Linked DNA regions of Homo sapiens: regions 1, 3, 4, 5, 6 and 7 are each linked to region 2. The links are contacts of gene promoters, found by promoter capture Hi-C in blood cells and fetal thymus (Javierre and others, 2016). All regions are on one chromosome and are shown on one strand. Each heading gives the region's core, a stretch centred on a gene start or on the middle of the fragment in contact. The rest is flanking DNA. Distances are from core to core; before and after follow the strand shown. Region 1 overlaps TXNRD1 (thioredoxin reductase 1). Region 2 holds the start of SLC41A2 (solute carrier family 41 member 2). Region 3 has its middle 71 kb from the start of EID3. Region 4 overlaps TXNRD1 (thioredoxin reductase 1). Region 5 overlaps TXNRD1 (thioredoxin reductase 1). Region 6 overlaps LOC105369949 (a long non-coding RNA gene). Region 7 has its middle 50 kb from the start of EID3.

Region 1 (2,700 bases), core at 174-2,673, 650 kb after region 2:
AATGAACCTCACCATTTTTAAGCACTGTAGGTAAAATTTACCAATTGGCAAGACACAGGCAATTGAAGCATTCAGTTGACCTTAGAATGAAACATTATGAGACTGAGTGAGGTGGCTCATGCCTGTAATCCCAGCACTTTGGGAGGCCGAAGCGGGAGGGCTGCCTGAGCTCAGGAGTTCACAATCAGCCTGGGCAACACGGTGAAACCCCGTCTCTACCAAAATACAAAAAAAATTAGCCGGGCGTGGAGGCGTGCACCTGTAGTCCCAGCTATTCGGGAGGCTGAGGCAGGAGAACTGCTTGAACCCAGGAGGCGGAGATTGCAGTGAGCCAAGATCATGGCACTGCACTCCAGCCTGGGTGACAGAGCAAGACTCCGTCTCAAAAAAAAAAAAAAAAAGAAACATTGTTTTTAAAATTTTAACCAAACTTAAAATTGAAAGTGCTATCATTCAGTTCCATTTAAGTGGTACTTCACCTGAAATATAAATAAGACAGACAGTAGAAAACAGCTGCCCCAAACAGTAGAAGGTAGCACAGAGATGGGATAAGGAAAGGAGAAAAATTCCCCCATCCTCCTCCAACTACAACTGCTTGAAATTATGTCCGCTGACTGTGGTGGCTGCTACAGAGGTTCTCAAACTCTTTCATCTCAGGACTCCTTTACAATCTTAAACAGAGCTTTAAAATTGAGACTCCAAAGAGCTTGTTAATGTGGGTTTTATCTATTTACTATATTAGAAATTAAAACTAAGAAGAAACTTAAAATATTCATTAACAAATTAAAAATAATATATTTATTAAATGTTAACGTATTTTTATTTTAAAAAATTTTTTAATTAGAAGAATGGCACTGTTTTGTATCTTTGCGATTCTCTTTAATGTCTGACAACAAAAGACAGCTCATATCTGTTTCTCCATTCAATCTGTTGCCACATCACCTGTCATATAACCTCTGGAAAACTTCACAGTTTACATGCAAGAGAATTAAGAGTGAAAAGGGCAGCGAGGCGTGGTGGCTCACGCCTGTAATCCCAGCACTTTGAGAGGCCAAGGCGGGTGGATCATGAGGTCTGGAGATCGAGACCATCCTGGCTAACACGGTGAAACCCCGTCTCTACTACAAATATAAAAAATTAGCTGGGCGTGGTGGCAGGCGCCTGTAGTCCCAGCTACTCGAGAGGCTGAGGCAGGAGAATGGCGTGAACCCGGGAGGCGGAGCTCACAGTGAGCCAAGATCATGCCACTGCACTCCAGCCTGGGCTACAGAGTGAGACTCCATCTCAAAAAAAAAAAAAAGAAAGAAAAGGGCAAACAGCATCTTACTATTATGAAAATAATTCTGACCTTAAAGTATGCCAAAAGGGCCTCATACACTTTGAGAACCAATGCTATAGAATATGAGATGACCTGCAGGCAACTGTCACTTGTTGGCAAGGCTTACACATTAGATAGCCTTCCTTTTCATCCACCTGCCTGTCATAGTAATCCCTTTCCCCAGACCCACTCCTAGTAAAACACTGCTCCAGGCTCCCCCAAAAAGGGCACAAAACAGAAAGCAATTCAACTGTGGCAGTCTTTTAAAATTGGAATAAGCAATCCTGACTTTTCCCCTAAACATAGTTTCTATCCTTTGCCAGATTTGTACTTTTATTTCCCCTACCATTATAGATGGCTCTGATGCAGAAATAACCTGCGTTAAAATACTTGCTCTACCACTCACAAGGCCAGGTGACTTCGACCAATCACCTAATCCTTAACGAAGCTAACAGGTTCCTGACCTCATCAAATGGCTGAGTTTAAGAAAGATAATGCATGTTAGCATAGTGGCTGGTAGGAATTAATCCCTTTAAGTTACTAATTCTCCATCTCCTGAAGAAGGGAAATTGCCTGGAACTAAGTCAAGAAGTGCTGGAATGTATTTACACTGGTGTCCTCCGCTGAGCTTCCCTGCGTCAATCTCCACTATTTTGAAATGCCCTCTTCCTAACAAATCTTGATCCAGTATATAGACAGACTAGCATAATGTTATTTCTATTCAGTATACAAACGTATTAGCAAGAAACAAGCAGATTTGCAGTTTGATTCTTAACCTCTATAAATTTTTAATCTCCTTTTTTCTTCAAGGTAAGCAGTCAGTTTAATTTCAAAATTTCAAAAATGATGAGGCAATCCATCATCCTCATCATTTTACTGGTTGGTGTCATGCCAACCAGTAAAAATAGAAACAGAAGTGGTCAACTTTATATTTTAACAGCTATTAACTTTAGAGAAGACCAAAAAAATTACCTCTCCTAAGCCTCCAGATTCTCTATTAATGCTTTTAAATCATCACTGTCAAATACTCCTAGTAAAGACATGAGACATTCAACAGAGCAACTGAATGTCAGTAAAGTACTGGGGCGGGATCTTTTTGCTGTCATTAAGAGTACTTTTTCTTCCAACAGCAGATCTCTGCAAAACCCAAGGAACTTGGTTGGTAGAGACATGCTGGAAATGAGGATGAGTGAGATCAAATGGTGCTTCCATGACTGCTACTATAAATCAAAGGATACTAGACACTAGCAAGGGTCAGCGCTCTTTCATATGTGAAAGGAGTAACTAATTTAGAAAATAATTTGCCAAGTTTCATGAGAAAGTTCTATTTTTGCTAAAACCTCTACTCTATTATTGGTGAAGAACCTCATCTCCATACATGA
Region 2 (2,700 bases), core at 120-2,619:
AGTCAAAACACTGCTTTTCCATATTCCTTGCAATTATACTTTCATTTTTAGGTGGTGAGGAACACCAGGATGAGTCATTATAAAAAGCATGACTGCAGATGGCCAAGAGTGATACCGAAGCACCCTTCACCCTGAAGGTTAAGGTTAAAGCTCAAAGTCTGATCGCAAAGCATAAGGAAAAAAAAAAAGAACATGGATAAATGTATGCTGGTGTCCTTCAGCACCAGAAAAGCTGCTACTAAATCACTGGTGTGGCTTGGAATTGGTAGAAGCTTTGATTTGAGGAAAAGAGTATCATTAGCTGTGTAATTTTGAGTTGTTGTTTTAGAGACAAGGTCTCATTTTGTGGCCCAGACTGGAGTGCAGTGATGCGATCATAGCCCGCTGCAGCCTTGAACTCCTGGGCTCAGGCGATCCTCCCACCTCAGTCTCCTAGCCACTCCAGGTCTCGCTGTGTTTGCCCAGGCTGGTCTCAAATTCCTGGCCTCAAGCGATCCTCTCGCCTGGTCCTCCCGAAGTGTTGAGGTTACACGCATGAGCCACCAATCCTGGCATTATGGCATTAGCTGTGTAATTTTTAAAATAACTGTCTTCGGACCAACACCTTTCTTTTGTTCACTGGAGTATCCCTGGGGTGTGTCTCATTCCCTGAATCATACACAGTAGATGCTCAATAGTTTTGTAAATAAAATAAATGAGCTCTCGGATTTACATGCAGACTTTGGATCAGTTTGATCTAGGTTTAAAAGCAAGTGTGGGGAAACTTGAAAAGCCTGGCACCCCAGCCAACTCTTCAGCGCCCCATGCGCTTGGCGCCTACACCTGCCTGGCACGGGGAGGGTGCTATGGGGCTGCCCTAAACCTCACCCCCTCCTGCGGTGGTTCCTGCCCGTCTCGGCTCCTGCACCGCCCACACTATGCGCTGCTGGGCCGAAAGACACGTGGTTCGGTTTTAACTCCAGTCTGCAAGAAACATGACCTCAGCCAAAAAGAGGCCGCTGGTCTGAGAAGAGAAATCATGAGTCATGGATTCGGGGGTTCGGACCTTGGAGCAGGCGGTGAAGTGGGCGTGCGTGGGCTGGTGGGGAAGAGGGATGCCGAAGGAGGCCACAGCCCTTCTCTCCTGGGCAGGCTCCCCAGAAAACTGCCCCCTTGCCGTCATCCAGCGCCCCCGTTCCCGACAGCTGTCTGCCAGGGCGCGGCCGGGGTCCGGGCGGGGCGGTGCTGTCGCTCCGGGTCGCCGCCCCGCGGGCCACATCACCAAGGCCCGGGCTTCCCCGGCGGCGGCGCGGCTGCGCTTGCGCGGGGCTGCCGCGCGGGGGCGGGGCGGCGGGGAGTCAGGGGGCCGCGGGCGCCGACGGCCGGGCTGTCAGCTTGGGGCCGCAGCCGCGCGAGGAGGCGCGGGAGCAGGAAGGAGCTGTGGGCTGGGAGCCGCTGTCCTCCCCGCCACCACCGGTGCCGGGCACCAGGTGAATGCCCCTTCCATCCCCCGCCCCTGGTGTCTCGGTCTGGTCTGAGGAGACGGGGACCCTTCTCACACCGGCCGCTGCCGCCGCCGCGCTCCGGAACAGGTGACCATGGAGGGGAAGTCTCGGCTTCGGCCGCGGCGCCGCGTTCGGGCGCATCAGGTGCGGGAGGGAGGTGGGGCCGAGAGGCCTGGGCTCGGGACCCGGCGGCGGGGGCGCGGGGAGCAGAGGGAGCGGCCCCGCCCGAGCAGCCGTGCCCCCTGCGGACGCCTCTCCGGGCCGCCGGGCAGCGCCCGAGCCCAGGCCCCCGCGCCTGCCCCACCTCGGGCTGAGGGAAGCTGTTCCGCGGCCACCGCGGACAAGCGGTCCCGGGCGCCCAAGGCAGGGACAGGCGGCGGGTGGTGTATGAGTGATGGCTGAAGGTGAGCTGGGATGGAGATGCTGCGAGGCTGGCTCGGGCACACCCCAGATGCCTGTTCAGGGCTCCGCGAGTGCCCCGTCACCCTTTTCTTTCATTCTTCTCTTTATATACACGGAGCATATCTCAAATTTAAAAGCCCAAATGCTCATTTACAGAGAGAGATGACACATATCTATGTGTTACCGATATACATTGATGTGTATATTACGTATATATGTCATCTTTTTTTTGTAGTGACAATTTTTAAATTGAGATATACATCACATGCCATAAAACTCATTCTTCTAAAGTGTGGCTTTTAATATATTCACAGAGTTTTCCAAATATGACCACTATCCAGATCATCATCCCCAAAAGAAACCCTGTCTCTCTTAGTAATCACTCCTCATTTCCCCTTGACCCCACCCCACTAGCCACCACTAATCTACTTTCTGTTTATATGGGTTTGCCTGTTGTGGAAATCTCATATAAATGGAAGCGTACAATATGTGGCTTTTTGTGTCTGGCGTCGAAAGACATACTGTAATGTTTTCAAGTTTCACTCATGTAGTATGTATCAGTACTTTACTTTTTATAGCATATTAATATTGTTGTATCAGTGTACCACATTTGTTTATTCATCAGTTGATGTACATTTGGGTTGTTTCCAGTTTTTGGCCATTGTGTGTAATGCTGCTATGCACATTTGTTTACACGTTTTTGTGGACATGTGTTTTCAGTGCTCTTGGGTATATACCTAGGAGGGCAATTGCTCCGTGTTTCACTTTTTGAGGAACTGCCAAGCAAAGCAGCTGTACCATTTTACTTTCCCAC
Region 3 (2,700 bases), core at 52-2,551, 580 kb after region 2:
GATCTGGGTTTAAATCCTAGCTTCACCTACGATAAGCTGGGTGACCCTGGGCCAGTGACTCACCCTTTCTGGGCCTCAGTTTTGTCATCTCTGAAGAGTACACCCATGCCAGAGCTGTGGAGATGACAAAGGATAAGGTGTATGTAACGCTTAGCACACACCTAAATGGCGTTGAATCGATGGCCTTCAACAACTTGCGCTAGTAAATGGCAGAGCTGGGAGGTGACAGCTTCTGCTTTTCCCGCAGTGCCAGGTGGGACCAGTTGAACACTAAGACCCTTCTCATCTGGCAGCCCCCAAAGCCAAAGCCCAGAATTCCCACTATAATTCACTCAAGCAGAAGGTCCAAAACTTTGGGTGGAAGGAAGGCCCAACAGGAACCTCAGTGGAATTTCTCTCAGTGGCCCCACATGGCTTCTGCCCACCTTGGTGGTGCTGGGGCACTCTGTCTCCCTGGCGCCCTACTTGGGTGGGGCCAAGCCCAGGCCAGCCCCACCCACATCTCCGCCGGGACCTATTTTGGTGTCCCAGTGTGTGGCTGTTGCAAATGAAAGCCTGAACAGTTTGATGCTACAGTTCCAGGAGCAGGCCAGCCCACCACCCCTCACACCCCTCCCTGGGCAGGACACCAGCAGGTCCCACAAAACATCAAGCTGCCTCATTAAGGACAGGGGCTGTCCAGCGGGAGGGGGTGTGAGAATGGGCAAAGGTGTGGTGTCCTCTGTCAGACCACAGGTGGGTGCTGTGGTGGGAGGGGAGTGTGAGGGCAGCAGGGGTGGCCGGAAGGGATACAGGTCTGCAGGGACAATGCGAGGCCTCTTTCCATCTCATCCGACTCCCACAGACCTGGGGGAGTACAAAAATCATCCCTGGGATGTTTACAAAACTTGGGAAAAAAAAAAAAAAAGAAGGAGGAGAAGGTACAGAGTGGGAAATAAAGGCCTGAAAAGGCCTCTGTGGAATCCCTGCTGTTTGCAAAGCTTCACCGACACAGATTCTAGCACCTCTGTTGCTAAAGGCTCTTTGCACTGAGAACTCTTTCTGACATGAGATTGCCTTTGCCAAGAATAATTTTGCCAGCTCTGAGTTGCTACCCACCAGGAGGTGGGGAGATGGAAATTTCCAGAAGCCCCCTATCCAATGGGGCCTTTCACAGCTCACTCAATGGACTCTGGAAAATAGCAAACCACCATCTCATCTGTTTAGAAAATACTGCAGGGGTTTCTTTAAAAGAGTTTAAAACATATTCTAGAATCCACTGTAAAACATTACCAAAGGTGTTTCTTAATTGCTGCTAATTTTACACAGCAATGACTTTATCTCTAAATGGGCCTTTCAATCTTCATCTATGTAGATATACACGTTTACATTCTTTAAATCACAGTATTATTAAATTTCATTTAGCAACATCCCGTAAACCTGTTCTCCTGGTTTGATAGTCCTCTTGTTAATTCTAATAATAGCATGCCATTTCATTGCATTCATATACCACAGATTTCTTAACCAGATTGTACAAAATAATTTTCTACCATTATAAACAATGCTGCAATGAACATCTTTGTGTATATGCTCTTTTCACATATGAGCTGCTTAAATTAATTTTCAGTCATTTGCTAAGCTTATGTTTATTGGGTACCTACTATGTATGTTAGGACCTAGGGGTAAGTGAACAGAACAGATGCAGTCTCTGCCCCACAGTCTAAATGTTCTATATTTTAATAATTTTTGGGTCTTCCTGTGTGAGGCTCAAATATATTTTTTAAAATCCTCTGAGTTTAAAATGGTAGCATTTGCAGCTGAGAAAGTATACACTGAGGGCTGCCAGCTTCAGGAGGAGATGGAACACAGAGTTTCCCGACATTGTTGGAGGTGGGGCTGGTGAACCACACCCCTCTCTTGCCTACTCATGGAGCCTGCCAGGGTCCCAGGGATGGACAGCAAAGTGGCAGCTCATTTTTACAAGAGGTAGGCTGGGGATGAGGCCGGGCGTGGTGGCTCATGCCTGTAATCCCAGCACTTTGGGAGGCCAAGGCGGGCAGATCATGAGGTCAGGAGATCGAGACCATCCTGGCTAACACGGTGAAACCTCATTTCTACTAAAAACTCAAAAAAATTAGCCGGGCATGGTGGCGGGCGCCTGTAGTCCCAGCTACTCGGGAGGCTGAGGCAGGAGAACGGTGTGAACCCGGGAGGCGGAGCTTGCAGTGAGCCGAGACAGCGCCACTGCACTCCAGCCTGGGCGACAGAGTGAGACCCTGTCTCAAAAACAAAAAAAAAAAGAGGTAGGCTGGGGAACGGGAAGCTGGGGACAATGTGCAAGGCTGCCAAGACTGCAGTGCACAAACGAATTTGCCCATCCTTCACAGGGGCTGCTGGGGGACCTCTGCAGACCTCCATCCACCCCCAACCCCAGGGCCTGACCCTCTTCACCCTTGGTGGGAGCTGGCTCCCACAGGGGAGGGATGAGCTGAGCACACTCACTCTTTCTCCTGAGCTCCTTAAATCGGGTAACTCTCTCCTCTCCTGACAGAGGCCGGGATGCTGCTCTCCTCTGGGGGCCCTTCTGCATGGACACATAGATGGAGACCTAAAGCTCATGGGCAAGGTTGGCCAGTCTCTGCTGCTTACAGCTCCCTTCCCCCACCTGACACGCACTCCTAACACTCATCTCCTCTCAAAGCCCAGCCTGGCCCTGCTGGG
Region 4 (2,700 bases), core at 169-2,668, 620 kb after region 2:
GAGACAGGGGCAGTTAATATACTGCCAGTGAGAATGGCTGACATTTTCTCCTTTTGTCTGCAGTAAAAGTGATATCTAATGTATACTCATATAAATAAACTTTTGAGAAAATTTGCCTAAAAAGAAAAAGACAACTATATATACAATTGTTATTTATGTTAGCTGTGTAGCTCATTATGGGTTATCCTAGTATATTCATTTGAATCTTTTTTGCAGAGGATTCAAGAAAATGTTTTCTAAAACCCTTGGTTTTACCAAAAAACCAACCTGTAACTGTCCTACTGCCTAAAGCAGTAGTTTCCAAATAGGATACATGGCTTAATTATATTCAAATTTCAAGATTAAAACATTATCAGTTTACTAGGCTTTTAACATACAGATTCTTTAACATCATTTATATTTTTACTGAGGTCGTTTCTTTAAAAAGTGTTAGCTAAGTTAAAAAGATCAGTTTTCTTAAGAGTCAATATTAAAGAGAGTGTGTGTATATGAATATACCAGTGTCCCACAGTCAAAAAACTTTAAAAAATATGAATTATCCAATCCCTCATTTCATATATATGGAAAAAAACCCTGTGAGGTATAGAGTTTGCTCACAGGCTTTCACAGGTTTCTGCTAAAAAAGTACTGTAATAGGCCGGGCGCGGTGGCTCACACCTGTAATCCCAGCACTTTGGGAGACCAAGGCAGACGGATCACCTGAGGTCAGGAGTTCGAGACCAGCCTGGCCAACATGGTGAAACCCCGTCTCTACTAAAAATACAGAATAGCTGGGCATGGTGGTGGGTGCCTGTAATCCCAGCTACTTGGGAGGCTGAGGCAGGAAAATCACTTGAACCTGGGAGGCGAAGGTTGCAGTGAACCAAGATCACGCCACTGCACTCCAGCCTGGGCAACAGAGCAAGACTCCGTCTCAAAAAAAAAAAAAAAAAAAGGACTGTAATATATTGCATATTGTACTCTTATTCACCTGGACAGTTGGGGGTTTATGGTATGAATAAAGTATATCTGTGGGAGGACTACTAAAAAGCACTTAAAATACATTAGATTTACACGTAATAACACCAGACTAGCATTACATGTAGCATCAGGCAATGAAATCTTAGAACTCAATTAAGAGCTCTTTCTTAGTAGTGCCAGCTGCTGAGGATCAAACGTGCATTGCTCCTGTTCTTTTTTGTTATTCATTATATTTAGATAGTCGATGACTTTATTGTTCCTCTTCTATAAACACAAACATAGACAGTTCTCAAGTTGTGCCTTTGGTTCCTTCACTCAGTAAGTTTTGGCTGCCTGTTGACTAAGTGTAGGGCCCTGTGCCAGTGAAGATGAGGGGGCAGCAGGCAGTGCAGCCAAGGTCCTTGCCAGCTGCTGATATCTATCAGCTGAGACAACTGGCACGCGAAATACTGAAGGAATGCCATCTGCACCATGTGACCAACTAAGCTATATATTAAAAACTAAAGCCGGGTATGGTGGCTCACGCCTGTACATTCCAGCACCTTGGGAGGCCGAGACAGGCAGATTACGAGGTCAGGTGTTCAAGACCAGCCTGGCCAACATGGTGAAACCCCCGTCTACAAAAATTAGCCAGTGTGGTGGCGCAAGTCTGTAATCCCAGTTAGTTGGGAGGCTGAGGCAGGAGAATCACTTGAACCCGGGAGGCGGAGGTTGCAGTGAGCAGAGATAGCGCCACTGCACTCCAGCCTGGGCAACAGAGCAAGACTCCATCTAAAAAAAAAACAACAACAAAAAACAACAACTAAATAAAATTACTGGAAAGGATTGAGAATTAAACTTACATTGTCTTTAGTATTACAGATTATTTTTGCATAACATTTGTTGTTATCTCTTGACGGAATCGTCCATTCCAATGGCCAAAAGTAACTATGGTAAACCTAAGAAGATACAAAAGCAAAATTTAGACCCATTATTTTAAACATTAAGTCTGTCAAACATATATGGTGAAAGACAGTAGAGACTCTTTAATAAGTAGACTTTCATTAAATAATAAAATTCATGGAATAAATAGGAATCTGGTCAAAAGGTAAATGACTTTCAACTCCTTGCTGTCAGGCACTTTTGCTATAAGCTCATCCCTTAATTATGTATATCTCTACCTCAAAATAGTACACCCTAACTAATAACAAAAAAGAGCAAGGGAATGACAGAAATAAGCCATTTAATTACCTGCTGTCATACATTGAAAACACACACACACCCAAACTCAATACTATCTTGTTATCCACTGTGAATGACAACTTGGGCAAGAAACAAATAAGGTGCCAGGATCAATTAAGGTAATTATCTAGTTCTCTTGCTAAATGCTTCCAAAAGACATTTCCTCCTTTGGCATTATTCACTAAAAGCAATGAAGGAAGGAGATAGGGAAGGAAAGAAGGAAGGAGATAGGGAAGGAAAGGAGGAAGGAAGGGTGGAACGACAGCATCCTTACTAATTTAATTGCTGGTTGACTAAATGGATTTTTTTTTTCCTCCAGCTGCTAGCCTCAGTTCAAAACATGATTCGCTACCTTTTACGAGCAAACTGATTATGAAGACATAACAAGTGTTCTTCGATGTTGTGATAAATAATATAATTTTAAAAATAAACATGGGTTACAAAATTTAATGTACAGTATCATAGTATCACAATTATATAGGAAAAAAATTAAAGGAATCACCCCAAATTGCTAACAAT
Region 5 (2,700 bases), core at 1-2,500, 670 kb after region 2:
CTAATTATCTCATCAAATGATCTTGATCAAACTACCCTATGTACAATAATATTAAAGCGTCTCAAACTTGACATTTATCCTAAAAATTATTGGAGGGAGCTTATTTAAAACAAAACAAAAACAATAAGGCAAGCCGGGCGTGGTGGCTCACACTGTAATCCCAGCACTTTGGGAGGCCGAGGTGGGTGGATCACCTGTGGTCAGGAGATCGAGACCAGCCCGACCAACATGGCAAAACCACATCTCTACTAAAAAAATACAAAATTAGCCAGGCATGGTGGTGCATGCCTATAATCCCAGCTACTTGAGAGGCTGAGGCAGGAGAACCACACCACTTGAACCCAGGAGGTGGAGGTTGCAGTGAGCTGAGTTCATGCCACTGCACTCCAGCCCAGGCAACAAGAGCAGAACTCCATCTCAAAAAAAAAAGGCGGGGGGGCGGGGGTAGATTCCTAGCTCTTTCCCGAGTCTACTTCAAAAGAACTCGGGTAAAGCCTGGGCATGCATAATTAACGAGTACTCCAGGGGATTCTGAGCAGGTGGTCTGGAGACTACACTTTTTTGGAACACTCTTCTGCAAAGCTTTCATCCTTTATCAAGGGAGTCACCTAGGCTCACCAACTTCTTCCAGCAGGATTCTTTCTCCCTTGTCTTCTATAGTACACTCACTGTGAAAGCAGGGTAGGTTTTGCTGCTGTTGTTTATTCAGGGAAAAGGGGATGAGGAAGAAACAATATTAAAAGGAGAAAGGAAAAGTGGACATTTTGAAGAGCTCCCTCCATTATTTATGTTGCAATTAAAGTATGAAATCTTAACCTTCTTTTTAAAGGTGTGGCCTTTAGGACTATAAGCACTCAATTCTCCACTAAATAAATGCCTTTCTCCACTGAAACCCAAAGCTCCCTTAAGGGTTTCAAAACCTACCATTTAGCCCCAAATGTGGGCAATAATTGGCTGAAAAGTTCACAGATCTTTCAAACCAATAGTCCTTACCTTGCTGTTTCTCCTTTCATTTTTTAGCACTCATTAAAAAACAAAAATAGGGCTGGGCCCGGTGGCTCACGCCCATAATCCCAGCACTTTGGAAGGCCGAAGTGGGTGGATCACGGCGTCAAAAGTTCAAGACCAGCCTGGCCAAGATGGTGAAACCTTGTCTCTACTAAAAATACAAAAATTAGCTAGGCACGGTGGCAGGCGCCTGTAATCCCAGCTACTCGGGAGGCTGAGGCAGGAGAATCACTTGAACCCGAGGGGCAGAGGTTGCAGTGAGCCAAGATCGCGCCACTGAACTCCAGCCTGGGCAACAGAGTGAGACTCCTTCTCAAAAAAAAAAAAAAAAAAAAAGCTGGGTGCGGTGGGTCACACTTGTAATCCCAGCGCTTTGGACTACAAGGTCAGGAGTTCGAGACCAGCCTGACCAACATGGTGAAACCCCATCTCTACTAAAAATACAAAAATTAGCAGGGTGTGGTGGCGTGTGCCTGTAATCCCAGCTACTCGGGAGGCTGAGGCAGGAAAATCGCTTGAACCTGGGAGGTAGAGGTTGCGGTAAGCCAAGATCATGCCACTGCACTCCAGCCTGAGCAACAGAGCGAGACTTTGTCTCAAAAAAAAAAAAAAAAAAAAAAGACACAAAGTAGAATAAGTTTACTTAAGAAATATGCTAAATGATTTCTTTTAAGTGTTCTTGATGGTATGCTTTTCATTCATGGCACTATACCTCACTAAATGTCGTGACCTGCAGTCCCAGCACTTTAGGAGGCCGAGGCCGGATGATCGCTTGAGCCCAGGAGTTCAAGACCAGCCTGGACAACATAATGAGACCTCCATCTCTAAAGAAAAAAAAGTTTTCAATTAAAAAAAAAGAAAAAACATCAGAACATCAGACCAAATCAATTAAGTGAGTTCCAAAGCTTATAAAAAGAGTGACTCTTTTTACTCCCATTGCCATTAAAACCAGGAGTATCAGTAGAATTACATAAAGATCAAATTACTATATAACTTTGTAAATGTAAACTTATGGCACAGGTGAAAATAATAGAATAATCAGACAGGAAGAAATATACATATATATATATATATATATATATATATATATATATATGTATATTTCTTTTTTTTTTTTTTTGAGACAGGGTCTCACTGTCACCTAGGCCAGGGTGCAGTGGCGCAATCTCAGCTCATTGCAACCTCCACCTCCAGGTTCAAGTTGATTCCCCAGCCTCAGCCTCAGTCCCAGAGTAGCTGGGACCAGAGGCATGTGCCACCAAGCCCTGGCTAATTTTTTTATTTCTAGTAGAGACGGGGTTTCACCGTGTTGCCCAGGCTGATCTGGAACTCCTGAGCTCAAAGCAATCCGCCTGCCTCGGCCTCCCAAGGTGCTGGGATTACAAGTGTGAGCCACCGCACCCGGCCAGGAAGGAATATTAATATAATAGACCGTTATCTCTTTTTACCTGCAAACTAAAGGTCTGAGTAACACAATATATTTTAACTAAAGCTAAAAGCCTCTGTATTTCCATTAATTTTCCATTAATTTGCTGTTTGAAGTCTAGATCCATTCCCTATAACCATTTGTCAAAAATAAATAAAATACTTTTAAAAGAAAAGGTAATAAATAAAAATTCAAATTATTAGTATTTTTCCTAAGGCTGCAACACATCTAAATATATTTTTACATTTAACGCAGGCGTTAGGTTT
Region 6 (2,700 bases), core at 133-2,632, 560 kb after region 2:
CCATCACCAAAAAAAAAAAGAAACCCTGAAATCTCCCTGTAAAGAAACCCTCTACCTACACTCATCTTGTGATATCATAAATACTATTTTTATTCTTCCAGTTGCCAAAAACCTTGTGTATTAATTATATATTGTGGCATAACAAATTGTCCCAAAATTTAACAGTTTAAAAAGCACACATGTATTATCTCAGTTTTGTGGGTGAAAAATCTGGATATGGCTTAGCTGTCCCCTCTGCTTTGGTGTCTTTCTCAAAGAACAGTCACACTGTTGACTGGTGCCGTGCTCTCATCTCATGGCACAACTGGGAAGGATGCACTCCAAGCTCACGTGGTTCAAGATTCAGTTCATCAGGGGTAGTTGGACTGACATCTTCAGTTCCTGGCTGGCTGTTGGTCAGGGGCTGCCCTCAGTTCCTTGCCATGTGGGCCTCTCAACAAGGCAGATTGCTTCACTGAAGTGTTAAAGCCAAGAAAGCAATGGAGAGAATCTGCCAGCAAGACAGAAGTCACAATCTTGGTGATATATCCACAGAAATGAGATCCCATCAACTTTGCCGTAATCTATTCATGATTAAAAAAAAAAAAAAAAGGGCGGGCAGGGTGCGGTGGCTCACGCCTGTAATCCCGGCACTTTGGGAGGCCAAGGTGGGTGGATCATGAGGTCAGGAGTTCAAGACCAGCCTGGCCAAGATGGTGAAACCTGTCTCTACTAAAAATACAAAAAATTAGCCAGGCGTGGTGGCGCACGCCTGTAATCCCAGCTACTCGGGAGGCTGAGGCAGAAGAATTGCTTGAACTCAGAGGGTGGAGATTGCAGTGAGCCCAGATTACGCCACTGCACTCCAGCCTGGGCAACAGAGTGAGACTCTGTCTCAAAAAAAAAAAGTCACTAGGTCCATCACAGACTCAAGAAGAAAGTTATACAAGAGCATGAATACCAGGAGGTGGGGGTAACTGTGAGCTGTGTCATAAACTGCCTACCGCATTGGAGTCATCCTCAATTTCTCACCTTCTCTCATATCCTCTATCCAATACTTCAGGCAGTCCAGCAGGCTGCAACTTCAAAGCAATTGACTCAGCATCAGTTTGCTGATGGTTTGCTCAAATGTCACCTGTTCAGTGGCATTTAACCATCTTACTTAAAATTGCAACTCACCCACAGACACACATATTCCCACTCCTCTTCCCTCATTTTTCTTTATAGCAGCAATCACCATCAGACATTCCAGATATTTAATCGTCTTTTAAATTTGCTCTCTCTCCACCTTAGCATGTAAGCTCTGTGAGGGCAGTGGTTTTTACCTGTTTTGTTTGCTGCTGTATTCCCCAGGCCTAGTGCAGCACACACAAAACAAATATTGTGGAATGAATAAATGTTAAAATACATGGAAATATGTTCTCTTTTTTAAAAAAAAACCTAAGGGAACACCTTATTCAAAGAATGTCAAAGATTCCATCATCTATACACACATAAGTATAGACTCTGTTGGTTTCACTAGGCTCCTAAATGGAGACCATCACAGCTCTAGCCACCTACTACCCATTCCTAACCCCTCCTATACCAAAACCAGGTGAGATTGGCCAAAGGAACAGGCTCCATTTCAGCCTCAAAATTCTGGGGTGGTCTCTGACTTAGCCTTGAAAACCACACTCCATGGACCTCCTGGTCTAAAACTACAGGGGACACTCTGCCAAGGAAGCCCTTAACTCCAAAAGACCCTGCCTGCCAATGGGCAGACCATGGTCATGGGTAAACAGCAATGGGAGGCAGCCAAGGACAGAAGGAACCGGGTGTATTTTTCTGCTTAATGACCAATGGCCAAGAGGCTCAAGGGACTCTTTGTAACCTAGAGCGCCTCAAACTTTTCCACACCAGTATCGTTTGGGGCAGCAAAAATGATCACTGAACCCTGGGGGCTTGGAGGTCTAGACTGAAGCTGACCAGGAAGTTAGAAATGTATCTGCTCATCTTAGTTTTCACTTTAAGATTCACCTGGATTTCATATATTCCCCAGTAATGTAGCTGCATTGAATTTAATGCAACAATAATGCTTTAAATTACTTACACATTTTTTCAAAAAATTCTACCTTTTTTTTCAGTCAATGAATGCAATGCTAAAGTACCAAGAAATTCTGGAAAATTTGTACTGAATTGAAGTGAGTGCATACTGCAAGCAGATTCAGGGCAATTTCTTTTCATGATAGCTGGAAAATTCAGATGCTCATAAACATTTGGGTGCAGAAGGCAGATGGCAGACAGCAAGGAAGTCTCAGGGGAGAAAGTACTGTCAGGGAGGAAGTACCATGCACCTCTTTGAGGCTCCTATCCATGGACATTCTGTATTAGACCATTCTCACACTGCTAATAAAGACATATCCAAGACTGGCTTATTTATAAAGAAAAAGAGGTTTAATGGACTCAGTTCCACGTTCCTAGGGAGGCCTCACAATCATGGTGTAAGGTGAAGGAGGAGTAAAGGCACGTTTTATATGGTGGCAGGCAAGAGAGAGTGTGCAGGGGAATTCCCCTTTATAAAACCATCAGATCACGTGATATGTATTCACTATCACGAGAATAGCATGGGAAAGACCTGCCACCATGATTCAATTACCTCCCACTGGGTCCCTCCCACAACATATAGAGATTATGGGAGCTACAATTCAAGATAAGATGGATTTGGGTGGGGATACAGCCAAA
Region 7 (2,700 bases), core at 16-2,515, 600 kb after region 2:
GACTTAGCACACACTCACCCAGACTGTTTGCTTTTGCAATTATTAGGCAGGTTCTACCTCATTTTCCCGACATACAAGAGGGTATCACCATCATACACAAAAGGAAGCCAATGGCAAGGACTTCTGATGCCTCACTTGAGGTCTGTAGGATGTGTTTCCCGCATACCTACCACATGTGGACTGCAGGGCCAAGGACCTGTCGGCTTTTTTTTTTTTATAAGCAATGTATGCTTTCTTCACGCTCTTCAATTGCACTGCAATCAAAAGTGTGCTTACGTGGCTGGGTGTGTTTAAGAATGTAGGAGAATCTACAAAGATGATGATGGGCAGGATGGTGGCGTGGAAAAATAGATAACTGGAAGTTAAAACTGGCTTCTGTGTTTGGCTGTTTAACCTTGAACTTGATGTTGACTCGGTAGCTTTGCCTATTTAGCTCTCAGTTTCTGCATCTGCAAACAGACTTGGAGGAGCTGACCTCCCTTTCCAATCTCAAATACTATGAAATAGTGCTGGATAGATGAACAACTGTACTAAAGGACGTTCACTGGTAAGACCATGCTCACTTTGAGGGCCAAGGGACACAGAAGCATCCTAGTCTGCTCTGCTCAGCTCCTTGTGAGATCTTGTGGCACAAAAAAAGTGCCCAGAAGGCAATGTGTCAACGCATCAGTGAAGTGTATTAGCAGGAAGGGTACTGCAGGGAAACCCTGCTTCCTTGCTACGGAACCTCACATTTAAAAACTTAATGCATCCCTTTTCCTTTCCTAAATAAAATCTTGTAAAATGTTAAAAGTTGAGTGCTGTGATATAAAGGGGGTATAAGGCCTGGCCTACTTGTTCTGTAACCTCCCTCTCCAACTCCCACGTATTAATTATCTATTGCTGTGTCAGAAATTACCCCAAAATTTAGTGCATGTTTAACCCATTCCTCGACTTCAGACTGATGTTGGAACCATGGTAGGTGATGGTCAGGAAGGGCCTTCTGCTGTAGCATCTTTCTTTCTAGTCTGGTCTATTTCTGTATGTGAAAACTTGATGGACATATTCCTATTACCTAGTATTCTGCCAGTACTCCAAGCTGCACCCTCCACCCCCACCTCTTCTAAGCTGCTTGTTTTAAAAAGTTTATTAAAAATATAGATATTATCCCTTAATAGTTTAAGGTAGAACCAAATAAAAAATATATAGATAGATAGATAATACTGATAAACAAATGCCCAAGTCCTGAGCGACCTTTCAGTCATGGTTGCCCCTTCCTAATCCCATCTTCTATTGTTTGGCCCCACCCAAATCTCATCTTAATTGTAGCTCCCCTAATTCCCACGCGTTGCGGGAGGGACCTGGTGGGAGATAATTGAATCATGGGCAGCTTCCCTCATACCGTTCTCGTGGCAGTGAGTAAGTCTTACGAGGCCTGATGGTTTTATAAGGGTAGATCCCCTTCACTTGGTTCTCATTCTGTCTTGTCTGCTGCCACGTAAGACGTGCCTTTTGCCTTCTGCCATGATTGTGAAGCCTCCCCCGCCACGTGGAACTGTGAGTCCATTAAACCTTTTTTCTTTATAAATTACCCAGTCTCGGGTATGTCTTTATCGGCAGCATGAAAACAGACTAATACACCATCCACTGTTCTACCCCTTCATTGGTAACTACTAGCTTCTATTTTATGATCATCATTTTGAATTCTCTTGCTTTCCCTTAGGGTATTACAATTTTATCTCTAAACACTGTATTTCTTAGCTTTGCCTCTCTGTACACATAATGAAATCATATTGCACATACTCCTTTGACTTTTTCACTCAATACTGTTTCTTAGATCTATTTTGTTACATATATCCTGCTGTTAGTCTTCTGTTACATGGACACACCACAACTCATTTGCCCATTCTCATGGTGATGGATATTTGGGCTGCTTCCACGTTTGTTTTTGGGATTTATTTTGTTTTGCAATTAATAACAGTGTTATGAACACTCCTGTACAAGTCTTTAGGTACGTAGACAGTGCATTTGTGCTGGGTATTCACCTAAGCGTGTAACAGCTGGGTCATGAGCTATCCATGCGTTTAATTCTACTGGGTAACGGCCAGTATCATTTTTTGGTTTGGGGGGTTTTTGCTTACACCTAAATGATGAAAAACTCTATTTTGCATCATGGTATCTGAAAAATGAAACTGCACTGGGTGCAAATGATAGATGAGGAATGACCTATGTGTGTTAAGTACAAAACTCAATTATACAATTATAGAATTACTATTACTAGTAACAGATACTCCAAATTATTAATGTTTAAGTAGAAGTAAAACATGATTTACCATACTAAAAGGCTAGACGTGACATATGACAGAATTTTAAGCCAGAAGCTATAAATGTAGCATCTATGTGTATATTTTAAAAATCAAATATTGGGAAAAAAACAAATATTGAGGAAGAGCTCTGGCCTTAAACACATCTTACCTGAAATCCAACCAGAAAGCCAGTCCATGATCTTTTAGCAATTTAAATTCATTGTATTAAAAAAAATTATGAATGCTAAGTGAATCCAGGGACAAAAAGGGCACCTTTTTTATTAAAACTACAAAATAAACTGGCTTTGTTAAAACATGTAAAAAAATTTCAAATCATTTTCGAAATGTTTGATATGCTGATCTTCACTGTTTTCCGAAGTGATTGAATAATTTACATCCCCACCAGCAATAATAA

The links. Contacts are between HindIII fragments. The CHiCAGO score rates a contact against its expected background, and 5 or more counts as called.
Region 1: a contact is called between a fragment that was not itself captured here and the fragment with the promoter of SLC41A2 in region 2, in 2 of 17 cell types (naive B cells and total B cells). The highest score is 5.5, in naive B cells.
Region 3: a fragment that was not itself captured here is called in contact with the fragment with the promoter of SLC41A2 in region 2 in 17 of 17 cell types (naive B cells, naive CD4 T cells, total B cells and 14 more); the score reaches 14.4 in naive B cells.
Region 4: a contact is called between a fragment that was not itself captured here and the fragment with the promoter of SLC41A2 in region 2, in 1 of 17 cell types (neutrophils). The highest score is 6.3, in neutrophils.
Region 5: a contact is called between a fragment that was not itself captured here and the fragment with the promoter of SLC41A2 in region 2, in 3 of 17 cell types (naive CD8 T cells, total CD8 T cells and total B cells). The highest score is 5.4, in naive CD8 T cells.
Region 6: a contact is called between a fragment that was not itself captured here and the fragment with the promoter of SLC41A2 in region 2, in 1 of 17 cell types (monocytes). The highest score is 5.0, in monocytes.
Region 7: a contact is called between a fragment that was not itself captured here and the fragment with the promoter of SLC41A2 in region 2, in 2 of 17 cell types (non-activated CD4 T cells and total B cells). The highest score is 5.2, in non-activated CD4 T cells.

The regions. Positions count from the first base shown.
Region 1 is chr12:104,306,600-104,309,299 of GRCh38, reverse strand. All of the region lies in intron 4 of TXNRD1 (thioredoxin reductase 1), which reads right to left. Among named protein-coding and RNA genes, the nearest start is that of EID3, 4.2 kb to the right of the region's middle. The HindIII fragment of the contact is 2,945 bases long and covers 1-2,700 here.
Region 2 is chr12:104,956,959-104,959,658 of GRCh38, reverse strand. It overlaps SLC41A2 (solute carrier family 41 member 2), which reads left to right and starts at 1,369. Exons shown (of 11, transcript NM_001352171.3): 1 at 1,369-1,571. RefSeq lists silencers at 1,191-1,460, 1,651-1,980. The HindIII fragment of the contact is 5,296 bases long and covers 275-2,700 here.
Region 3 is chr12:104,373,001-104,375,700 of GRCh38, reverse strand. No RefSeq gene overlaps it. Among named protein-coding and RNA genes, the nearest start is that of EID3, 71 kb to the right of the region's middle. RefSeq lists enhancers at 75-586, 2,149-2,700. The HindIII fragment of the contact is 638 bases long and covers 983-1,620 here.
Region 4 is chr12:104,333,435-104,336,134 of GRCh38, reverse strand. It overlaps TXNRD1 (thioredoxin reductase 1), which reads right to left. Exons shown (of 17, transcript NM_001093771.3): 15 at 1,803-1,898. Among named protein-coding and RNA genes, the nearest start is that of EID3, 31 kb to the right of the region's middle. The HindIII fragment of the contact is 3,413 bases long and covers 1-2,700 here.
Region 5 is chr12:104,290,125-104,292,824 of GRCh38, reverse strand. The region is part of intron 4 of TXNRD1 (thioredoxin reductase 1); the gene reads right to left. Among named protein-coding and RNA genes, the nearest start is that of TXNRD1-AS1, 11 kb to the right of the region's middle. The HindIII fragment of the contact is 1,331 bases long and covers 585-1,915 here.
Region 6 is chr12:104,395,969-104,398,668 of GRCh38, reverse strand. LOC105369949 (a long non-coding RNA gene) reads right to left here. Exons shown (of 4, transcript XR_007063432.1): 4 at 70-490. Among named protein-coding and RNA genes, the nearest start is that of CHST11, 60 kb to the left of the region's middle. The HindIII fragment of the contact is 8,929 bases long and covers 1-2,700 here.
Region 7 is chr12:104,352,577-104,355,276 of GRCh38, reverse strand. No RefSeq gene overlaps it. Among named protein-coding and RNA genes, the nearest start is that of EID3, 50 kb to the right of the region's middle. The HindIII fragment of the contact is 6,179 bases long and covers 1-2,700 here.